3 separate regions of the Homo sapiens genome follow, and regions 1 and 2 are each linked to region 3. Evidence: promoter capture Hi-C in human tissues and cell types (Jung and others, 2019). All regions are on one chromosome and are shown on one strand. Each heading gives the region's core, a stretch centred on a gene start or on the middle of the fragment in contact. The rest is flanking DNA. Distances are from core to core; before and after follow the strand shown. Region 1 overlaps PTER (phosphotriesterase related). Region 2 has its middle 49 kb from the start of C1QL3. Region 3 holds the start of C1QL3 (complement C1q like 3).

Evidence for each region. The method cuts DNA at HindIII sites, captures the fragments that hold promoters and counts their contacts. A contact is called where the count stands out against the background at its distance.
Region 1: a contact is called between a fragment that was not itself captured here and the fragment with the promoter of C1QL3 in region 3, in 2 of the 25 tissues and cell types used here (ovary and thymus).
Region 2: a contact is called between a fragment that was not itself captured here and the fragment with the promoter of C1QL3 in region 3, in 4 of the 25 tissues and cell types used here (dorsolateral prefrontal cortex, mesendoderm cells, ovary and 1 more).

The regions. Positions count from the first base shown.
Region 1 is chr10:16,480,093-16,483,961 of GRCh38, forward strand. The region is part of intron 1 of PTER (phosphotriesterase related); the gene reads left to right. Among named protein-coding and RNA genes, the nearest start is that of C1QL3, 40 kb to the right of the region's middle. The HindIII fragment of the contact is 6,546 bases long and covers 1-3,869 here.
Region 2 is chr10:16,568,999-16,572,739 of GRCh38, forward strand. No RefSeq gene overlaps it. Among named protein-coding and RNA genes, the nearest start is that of C1QL3, 49 kb to the left of the region's middle. RefSeq lists an enhancer at 1,804-2,033. The HindIII fragment of the contact is 6,458 bases long and covers 1-3,741 here.
Region 3 is chr10:16,520,479-16,523,902 of GRCh38, forward strand. C1QL3 (complement C1q like 3) reads right to left here and starts at 1,401. Exons shown (of 2, transcript NM_001010908.2): 1 at 1-1,401. The coding sequence starts at 587. RefSeq lists silencers at 252-311, 622-841, 1,112-1,341. The HindIII fragment of the contact is 8,174 bases long and covers 1-3,424 here.

The DNA.
Region 1 (3,869 bases), core at 1,224-3,723, 39 kb before region 3:
ATGTATGATAAGAATTAGACCTTTCATGGTTGGGGGAGGAGTTGGGAAAGTCAACTGAAAACTGATCCACCAAAACTCAGTTTTGTAATTTGACTATAGCATTTTTTTTTTTTTTGAGATAGAGTCTCGCTCTGTTGTCCAGGCTAGAGTGCAGTGGCGCAATCTTGACTCACTGCACCCTCCACCTCCCAGGTTCAAGCAATTCTCCTGCCTCAGCCTCCCGAGTAGCCTCCCGAGTGATGACAGACATGTGCCACCAGGCCCAGCTAATTTTTGTATTTTTTATAGAGACAGGGTTTCATCATGCTGGCCAGGCTGGTCTCGAACTCCTGGCCTTAAGTGATCTGCCTGCCTCAACCTCCCAAAGTGTTGGGATTACAGGTGTGAGCCACTGTGCCTGACCTAATTTGACCATTGCATTTAAAATTGTTAGACGAGTACCTTCAACCAGGTCAAGGGCTGGGTATAACAGAGTCCGGGGTGGGAGAAGAGCCTATGTTTATGAAATAAGGACAGTGTATTTCAGTTAAGAGAAGCTCTCCTCATTCACAGGTAAAATAGAGTCCTGGAAAGTCCTACCCTCTGCAATTCAAAATGCCACTGAAAAATATATTCAATCTACATAGACGGAATCATCTTAAGTATAATGGCCAGGGTGAAATAGCTGTGAGGAACTCTCAGTGAAACTAAACTAAAATTGCCCCCAAACTACCGTCCTGCACACCAAATCTTCAACAATTAGGTGAATTGTCTAAGTATTTTGTAGAAGTTGATTTATGCATATGGTTTTAGAATACACATATTTTAAACATGCGTATTTTAAATAAGACAAATCCTATTTATCGTTTCTGGCTTTCAGCTGTGCTGGAGGACTGTCCTCTGATTCTCTTCTCTTATCCCTTTTATTTTTTGTCTTTAAACCCTCTGTGCTTTTTCAGTTCTAGATGCATCAGAATTAGAAATGTTGTTCCCCTTGGCTAGGCTGTAATAGTAATTGCAGTCTATCCTCAGTCCTCAGATTGTTCAAATTTCACATTTGAAGTGCAACAGAACTTTTGACCCATGTGTTTGTAGCTCTGGCTACCCACTTTCTCACTAGCTTCTGTGCCGGTGTATGTGAGTGATGCTTAAGCCTCTCAGGCATACTCTGGAAAATGCCAGAAGCCTGCTTTGTTTGTTGGTAACCAGTCCTGTTTGCACCATTGGGTATAGCTGCTCTCATCGTTCCTTACCTTCTTCCTTGTTCTGTGAACTCTCTTCTCTATGGGGGAAGGCCATGAATAACCTCTTGCCTGTATGTTGAGAAGAGAGCAACCTCCAAGCTGAATGCAGAGGGAAAAGGGCTCCCTCCCTGCACAGGAAGCGTGTATTCTAGATACACACTCCACCCCACTCAAAGACATTCCAGCTTAGAGCAATGTTGGCTACAGTTTGTTCTTTAATCGTTTCTTATCCTTTGAGTGGAGGTTACATTGTGTGTGATCATAGGAAGTGCCAGCCAGTTCTGCCTGAGAGCATTAGAGGAATCTCCCAGAAGGGATGACATTTCTTAAGTGATTTTTTTTTCAGAAAGACTCACAGCTTGTGAGCTTGAAACGTACCAACATTGCTCTTTCAAATATGCATCAATTGAATATGCAGTTTGGTACTTTTCTAGCAAAAGTGGTAGCATTTTATCAATTTAGCTCAGTTTCTGCCCCTCTGTGACTCTCTGGAACACGTCTGTAAGATGGTCAGCCAGAAGGAAAGAAACGGCAAATTAACCCATATGGAAGCTTGCATCTATTATTAATGGTACTGTGATTTCATCAACGGAAGGCATGAACTACACACTCCTTGCTCTCAGTAGCAAGGAATAAGACACTGAACAGTAAATTCCTATCCATCATCATTGGAAAATATTGCCCTGTATAGTGCCTGGCAGCTGTGTGGTGATTCTCTGAAGAGACACTGCCTGCTTTTCTCTTAGCCACCATTTGAATTGCCTAGCTGATAGAAGTTTGGCTTCCAGAAAGGCACTATCAAACAAAATCAATGGCCATGTTAGCCACAAGTCCTAAGTTCTGTCCAAAAGTCTAAATCCATCATTTATGCCTTATAAGCCAATATATCGCAAACACCTGAGTTCCAGATAATTGCAGTGGCTTGCTATAAATTGGCCTACAATTCTGTCACCCTCTGACCTCTGATGTTGTTTTCACCTTGTCTTACGTGTGTACTATACCCTTCACAAATTTTCCCCTTTGTTCCCCCAAATCATCTCCCCTCTCATCAGCCACTTTCTCTGAAAAGAAATAATCTAGGATATACGTGAATAGTTCCTAGAATTCGCAAAACAAAGCTACTATTTGTTGAATATGGTCTGCGTGCCAAATGCATCTACAGGTATTTTTACCTGTGGTATCTAATTTATTTTTACGACAGTCTATGAAATGTGCTTCGTTATTTTAATTTACAGATGACAAAAATGGAAGTCAAAGAAGGCTTTCAAGGGATATGGGGGAAATGATGACTTCAGAACACTATTTGAAGGAACAGTTTGAGAGCTTGGAAACACGTGATGCTCCTTTTCTTCAGTTCCCAGAGTCTGGGACTCGAGTCCTGATTTTGCTCTTGGCCATGCAGGAGTTTGTCCTCACTATTTTCAGTAGCTCTTGTTCCTTTATAAACCCTTCATTTAGGAAATGTACTTAAAATTTTTTTTTTTGAGACATAATCTCGCTCTGTTTCCCAGGCTGGAGTGCAGTGGCGCGATCTCGGCTCACTGCAACCTCCGCCTCCTGGGTTCAAGCAATTCTTCTGCCTCAGCCTCCCAAGTAGCTAGGATTACAGGCACGCTCCACCACACTTGGCAAATTTTTGTATTTTTAGTAGAGACGGGTTTTCACCATGTTGGCCAGGCTGGTCTCAAACTCCTGGCCTTATGTGATCTTCCCACCTCAGCCTCCCAAAAGTGCTGGGATTATAGGCATGAGCCACTGCACCTGGCCATTTAATTTTTAATTTAAACAAATTTTTTAAAAGGAAATGTACTTTTAAAGGAAAGTACTGGAATTGGAGTTCTTGGTATCACTGATAGACATTGGTGAACACTTAATTTGTGCTACAAATGAAAGCAAATCGAGGATAGAGAGGGCTTTGCTCTTTTTAGAGATAGCCGATTTCAGTTTCAATAAATCACAATCGCTTTCATTATGGCTAAGAATCTTTGCTTTTCAGTATTTTTGAAGTGTGTTTCTGTGTGCCCTAGACAATCAAGCATTCAACCTGAAGAGGTTCGTTTCTTGTTGTTATTTCATTATTCAACCGAGTGTGCTCCTCAGTTGTTTTGGGGAGGGGCATATTCTATGAAGTCGTGTGAGTCAGAGATCTTGTCTTTTGTTTCTTTATGGCTCTAATTTCTGACACATCATGGACCTTCAACAGAAATTTGTTTGCTTGGGTAGTGGAGGAACAGTAGAAAGATCAGTTGTGGCCACGAGTGATGGTTCACACCTGTAATCCAGGCACTTTGGGAGGCCGAGGCAGGCAGATCACCTGAGGTCAGGAGTTCAAGACCAGCCTGGCCAACATAGGGAAACCCCATCTCCTAAAAATGCAAAAATTAGCCAGGCTTGGTGACACATGCGTGTAGTCCCAGCTACTCAGGAGGCTGGGGCAGGAAAATCCCTTGAACCCAGGAGGCGGAGGCGGAAGTTGCAGTGAGCTGAGATCGTACCACTGCACTCTAACCTGGGCAACAGAGCAAGACTCTCCCTCAAAAAGAAAAAAAAGGAGGAAAGATCAGTTGCTTCAGGATATTTAATTTAGCTAAAAAGTGACAAATGAAACAGTACTGATACATGGTTAGTTTGGATGTAAGTTATTGA
Region 2 (3,741 bases), core at 123-2,622, 48 kb after region 3:
GGTGAATCTCAGAAGCATTGTGCTGAGTAAAGGAAGCAGACACAAAATTCTACACTCTTTAAGATTGATTGATATAAAACTCCAGAAAAGAGAAATCTAATCCAATTCATAGTGATATAAAATACGTTAGCATTTGCCTAGGGCTGAGGGGTAGAGGGTGTTGCCTGGGAAGGACCAAAAAGGAACTTTTGGGGTGATAAAATGTACCTTGATTGTGGTAATGGTTACACAGGTGTGCACATTTGTCAAAACTTACGGAAATGTATACTTAAATTGGGTGTATTATTTTATTGTATATAAAGTGTACCTCAATAAAACTGATTTAATTTTCTAAAAAAAATAAAAGCTTACATCAAGGGGTAGCAAGACTAAGAATCATTGCATCCTTAGGGCATTTTATTCCAAATTATATCAATTTGAGGAGGTGGAGAATTTTCTAGTAGGGGATCTTAAAGTCTGTTCTAATATTAACATACTTTCTATATTAATGTTACTATCAATCATATCTCAATCTATAAAGTGACAAAGATGCTAAGTAAATCAAGCTGCATACAAAGTCCCTCTAGTGACATCTTGACTATCCTTTATAATGTCATCTGCCTTCAAACAAATCAGATTTTGTCCTAAGAGGTACTATTCATAATATTGGTGCCATCGGTTTTACATTTATTGTGTGTACTGGCTAATAGCAAGGTTTTTTTAAGCTTAAGAGGCTCAAGTGACATTTGAAAAATATCTGAGATGAAGAATGTAGTAGATGAATAATTTCCTTAATCAGTGTAATTGCCAAGAAATTGATTATCACAGTTTATAACTGGTTCGTAGGAATATTTTTGAAGGCCTTGGACTACTGTCAAATTAAATGTGTTACCAATGATCATTTATATTATAAAAAAGAAGAGAATAATCAAAAGCTACTTTTTCATATCCCTTCTGCTCAAATTCCTTCCAATTACTGTCACTCATTCTTTTGTGGAATTTATTGCCATTACCTTTTCATGGCACACTTGAGCTCTGATGTACCCATAAGAGCAAGAATTGTTGCACAAATGCAAAATGCTCTGATTATAGCAGAATAACGTAGACTTTGCTTACGCAAGAATGACAACATTTCCTTGCTGCCTTAATCTTTGCAAAATATTCCTTGTCTGGTTCATCCTAGATGTGCAAGGCTTATAATTCTGTCAACTAACACCTGTGGAAAGGTCTCCTTTGGTTGTTTATTTCTTGTTTTTTGTTTTGTTTTGTTTTTGAGATGGAGTCTCACTCTACGGCCCAGGTTGTGGAGCAGTGGTGCAATCTCAGCTCACTGAAACCTCTGCCTCCCAGCAATTCTCTGACTCAGCCTCCTGAGTAGCTGGGATTACAGGCACCTGCCACCATGCCCGGCTAATTTTTATATTTTGAGTAGAGACGGGGTTTCACCATGTTGGCCAGGCTGGTCTTGAACTCCTGACCTTGTGATCCACCCAGCTCGGCCTCCCAAAGTGCTGGGATTACAGGCGTGATCCACCATGCCTGGCCTCCTTTGCTCTTAAGGTAAATCTAGTTGCAGGGGAATCTAGGCATCTCACTTTCCACTTTGTTTTTATTTGTCATTATTAGGGAAACTAAATGATAAGGATGATTTAAAAGTCTTCTAGAGTTACCAATGCCAATTGCCTGACTGATGTGGACAGTGGGATTTTTTGGTCTGACATCTACCTTCTGGCATCTCATTTTGGATCATCTTCAGTAATAGGTTTCATTCTTGCTTGAGCCATACCCGTTGCACCCTTAGAAGGAAACCACCCAACAAGCGTCTATTGCATGCTAGGCACTGTAGAACGAGTTTTAATTCTCCAAACCTCCCTACAAGGTAGCAATTATTGTTGTCATTTCCATTTTTGCAGAAAAGAAAACTGAAACTAAGAGAGGTCACGTCATTTCCCCAAGGACACACAGCTAATGATTAAAAGAGGTAGGAGTCAAATGTAATCTGTCTGACTTCACAGTCACCAAGGTATACTACTTTTCTTATTGCAAACCTTGGTGCCTACTTATGCAGACATCAAAGACAGTCCAACTCTGTTCAATGGAAGAGAGATTTTGCACAGAGAATAAGGATAGACTCAACCCAAAACTAAAAGTCAATCTGGTAGAGAGTAGAAAGATAGTTACCAGAGGCTGGGAAGGGTAGCATGGGGTAGGGAGAAGTGGGGATGGTTAACAGCTACAAATAAACCCTGAAGTAATTAATAATACCTAGTATTTGATAGCACAGCAGGGAGACTATAGTCAAAATAATTTAATTGTGCATTTAAAAATAACTAAGAGTGTAATTGGATTATTTATAACACAAAGGATAAATGTTTGTGGGGATGGGAACCCCATCTTCCATGGTGTGATTATTAAACATTGCATGCCTGGATCAAAAGATCTCATGTACCCCATAAATATATACACCTATGTACTCACCATTTTTTTAAAAAGTCAACTTGGTATATAATTTTGACCTTATACTGCAAGCAAATTAAAATAAGAATAGTAGTTACACATGTGAATCCTTTACTAAAACTCTACTAATTTTCAACAAGTTTGATCCAAATAAATTCATTTTTAAGAGCTAATCAGAAAATATTTGGAGGGCAGATAGATAGTATCTGTATCTATTAAATGTGTAGATTTACACATTTACACAGTAGATTACAGACCACTAGGCACCTGTAATCCCAGCTGCTCAGGAGGCTGAGGCAGGAGAATCGCTTGAACCCAGGAGGCGGTGGTTTTAGTGAAGCGAGATCGCACCACTGCACTCCAGCCTGGGTGACACAGCGAGACTCTGTCTCCAAAAAAAAAAACAAAAAAACAAAAAAACCACTAGGCAATTGGAGATGAAGACCAGAGTTTTAAGATAATCATTCCACATTAATTCCTATTAATTACAAAATTTAGATTGTACATTTTTGATTCAGTATTTCCACTTCTCAAATCTGTCTTACAGTAAAACTTGCTCAAGTATTGAAATACATGTGTACAGAAACATTCTCGGCAAAAGCGATTGTCAGAGCAAAAACAAAGAATCCAACAAGCCATAATTGGAGATTGGTTAAGAATCTTTTGCTACATTTATTCAATGGTATTACAATGTAAATTTAAAAGAAAGAGATAGAGTTATACCATGTAGGAAGCTATCCAAAATATATTATGTAGAAATGTATATGATGCATAACAATATGTATGCTATTTTTGTAAAAATAAAAAGATATATTTGCATATGCATAGAAAAACCAGGAAAGATACAGTTTAATTATTAACAGGGGTTATCTGTATGAAAATATTGATGAGATAAATAAAAGGAGGGAGGATAATATTTTATTTGTTATCTTAAGTACTCTCAGATGTCTGCAATAAAAATGTGTGTGTGTGTGTTTTAAATAAAAGCAAAGTAGGCCAGGCACAGGGGTTCATGCCTATATTACCAGCGCTGTGGAAAGCTGAGGCAGGTGGATCACTTTGAGCTCACGAGTTCAAGGCCAGCATGGGCAACATGGCAAAACCCCATCTCTAATAAAAGTACCAAAAAAAAAAATTAGGTGTGATGGCACACACCTGTGGTCCCAGCTGCTCAGGAGGCTGAAGTGGGAGGATGGCTTGAGCCCGGGAGGCAGAGGCTACAGTGAGCTGTGATCATGCTGCTGCACTCCAGCCTGGGTGACAGAATGAGACTCTGTCTCAAAAAAGTAATAGTAATAAATAAAA
Region 3 (3,424 bases), core at 151-2,650:
TGGTTGTTTTTGCAGAGATCAGCCCACATGCTGGTGCCGTCCCCTCCGCGCATCAGGACGTGGTAGGTGAAGAAGTAGATGCCCGGGATGGAGCAGGTGAACTTGCCGGTGGTGGGGTCGTAGTGGTTTCCGAGGTTGGTGACCACGTCGTCGAACTTGAGCACCTCGTAGCCTTCATGCTGCCGCTTGAGGCCGGCGTAGAAGGCGATCTTGGGCACCGTGCTGTAGGTGGCGGCGCTGATGGCCCCGGCCGCGTTCAGGCCGGGCGCCCCGGGCGGGCCCGGCAGGCCTTGGCGGCCCGGCTCGCCCTTCTCGCCCGGGGGCCCCATGGGGCCGGGTGGCCCGGGCTCTCCGGGGGGCCCGCGCGGACCCGCCTTCCCGGGCCTGCCGGCCTCGCCTTTGGGGCCCTGGATGAAGGTGGGCAGGGACTGCATGAGGCCGCGGTCGGGCGTGGCAGCGGTGCTGGGCGCCTTGGTGCCCCCGTAGGGGTCGCAGACCATGCGGCAGGTGCCCAGCATCTCGTAGTGCGCCGACGTGCCGGCCGAGCTCACCAGCACCGGGATGAGGATCACCAGCAGCAGCACCATCACCACCCCCAGCGCCCCGGCGGCGATCAGGCGCCTCCTGCTGCCCACCAGCCGGCTCAGCGCGGGGCGATCCTCTTGTCTGCTTTTGGACAGAATTTTGAAGGTTGGGCGGGGACCTCTTCAGAGCCGAAAACAACCCCCTGCGAACCCCAACTCCCCTGGGCGTGCGTGCGCCGGCCGCTGCTGCCGACTCCTGCTCCCCCCGCGGAGGCTGCGGCTGGGGAGGGAGCGCGGGCGCCCAGTGACTTGAGCCGAAGTCCCGAGCCCGGGGTGGGGGCCGGGGGAGGGGTGCGCGGGGCGCCCTCGCCCCCCGCGAGCTCCTTCGCACCTGTGGCTGCAGCCGGCGCCGGCGCGGCCACCGGGAGGGCAGAGCCAGCCGCCGCCTCCTGAGCTCGCCCGGGCAGCTCACACTTTTATGCCGCCGCCGCCTGCGATCGACTTTTCCGTTTTTGCAGACTGCGCCTGTTCGCACCAACTTTCCGTCTGAAGTTGCCTTTTTCTGCCTCCTCCTCCTCTTCTTTCGCTCGCTCAGTTCGCCCGTCCGCTGCCTTTTTTTTTTATTGCCTCCTTTCTCTCTTCCTCCTTTGCCACCACCACAACTCGAATAGACGCGCACCCCAAAGCCCCGCGTGGGCCCGGGCGTCCCCCGGGTGCGCCCAGCGGCGGCGGCGGCGGGCACGGTCGGCACGGCGAGGCTCAGAGCTGGGGCGGAGGAGCGAGCGAGCAGCGGCGAGCGCCTCACGGCCGGGAGCGGAGCGAGAGAGAGACTGAAGGCAGAATTCTGCCTGGGTACCACCTGCCAGGAGAAGAGGAGGCTGACAAACGCGCGCCGGAGCAATTTATAGGCACCCAAGGCACAGAGGAAGGGGAGCCGCTTTGGCATCTCATTGCAGCATCTGCTCTGCTCATCCCACTCAGAGAGAGTTTGGCATTACTCTGACAATGTGGGATTTTTTTTTTTTTTTCGGCCTCTCTTTTTTTCTCTCTCTGCACATGGATGAACAGTGAGATTCTGAATACTCCCTTGCTGAACCAAGCGATGGCAGGTCCTGCTGGACCCACCTGGGGAAGGGAGACAGCTGTGCGACAGCTTTCAGAGCTCAAGGGTCACACCTAAATCCCCGATTTCCCCACTGCCAGCAGCCCCAGTTGGAGGGTGGAGGTGAAGGTTGAAAGGAGGGTGGCTGAGTTGACAGTTTCTTTGCTAGCTCCTCTACAATCAGTGCTTCAGGTGTTTTCAAAATGCCACTGTTAACAGAAGGAGGGCCTTTTAGAATTTTCCAGATGGTAGATGTGATTTTCTTTTAACCTGATGGTTTTCCTCCTCTGCCTTGTAAATGAATAAGATGTTGCCCCAAGAACAGTGAGGTATGTTGAAAAGCCAAAGAACATTTGTGAATGATTTTAAATGAACATGTCCACCGCCTCTGGGGGAGGAGGGGGTTGGTCCTTTTTACAAATGCTGCACCGTGGTGAGTGCATACATACGTACTGTGCTTACAGTCTTACAGTTCTAGCAGTCTTTCGGGGGATACCGCCAATGGCCCTGAAGTTGCGTTTACTTAAAGTCGCTAAATGTACAAGAAATAACCACTTGTCAAAATGGCGTCAAAAGATCAAGCAAGAAGCTTTTGCACAAGTGCTGGGCAAGGTCTTTTCCTAGCATATGGAAAGAGTTCTATAAGCTCCATAGCAGATTTCCCGAATATACATTGAGGGAGGGGAGAAGTAGGAGAAATACAAGAAAGAAGAGCCCCCATTCTCAGTGGGTGAGCTGCAGAAGGAACAGCATGGTTTATCATATTACTGGAAGGCCTCCAGGGTAGATATCAGGCAAGTTACCCCACCAACAAATACATAAGACACACAAGAATGGCTTTAAATAAATAAGTAGAATTGAATCCTAAATCATACTTTTGCATTCAGGAGCAACAGATGTCAATCAAACGTGGGTGACATTTGCTTGTCAATACGAGGATGATGGCTGGGAAGACGGTGACTTATTACATCAGGGTGAGAATCTGAAATGAGAAAAGCAGGAACAAATAAGACTACAGCAAGCAAACAGTAACATCCTGGGTGACGATCAGCAGCCTGTGATCTTGTCTGCGGGTGTCACAGCATGGACTTCTCCTTTCCTCCCTGTGCCTCAATCTCCCCGCCCCCCAGCCTACTCCAGTCCACCCCACCAATTTAGTTCTTTCTTTCTTTCTTTCTTCTCTGTTTCAAAACAAAATAAGGTCAAACGAGCAGACAGAAGGAAACAAAGACTGAATGATTCTTTTAAGAGAAATGTCAGTAGCTCCTTCAGGCCTTGGCTGGGAGAATCAACCCTAAAAGCTGTGCTGTGTGGCTCAGCGGGGTGGGGGTCTCCACCTCCTGGCTACTGAGAGAGCCACACTGCTCCTGGTATTGGAAAATAGGGCTTCCCACTTCTCAAGCCCTTAACTTTTATTTTAGGGTAGTGGTTTTATAAATGCGCGCCTATTGCTTGGGCATAATTATACACATAGTTCCATAATATTTTTGTTCACATGAGCTGCCTTATTTTCATATTTTTAAGGAGCAAACACATAATAAGTTGTCTCCTGGCCATAATACTTACTTTCCTAACACACCTTCTGGATTGCTTCTTAAAAGTCACCTTCCTTTTGGAGGACAAAATGGTGAGGTTTGCTGCCAGCACTGGGGGGGTAGGATATTAATAAAACTCTGATGCACCAGATTATCAAATTTCATAAGGCCTCTCTATTGCTATGAAGAGTTCTGTAGGTGACACAAAAGGAGTTTTTAAAAGGTAGAGATGTATAGAGAAGTTCTCATCAAAACCTCAAGCT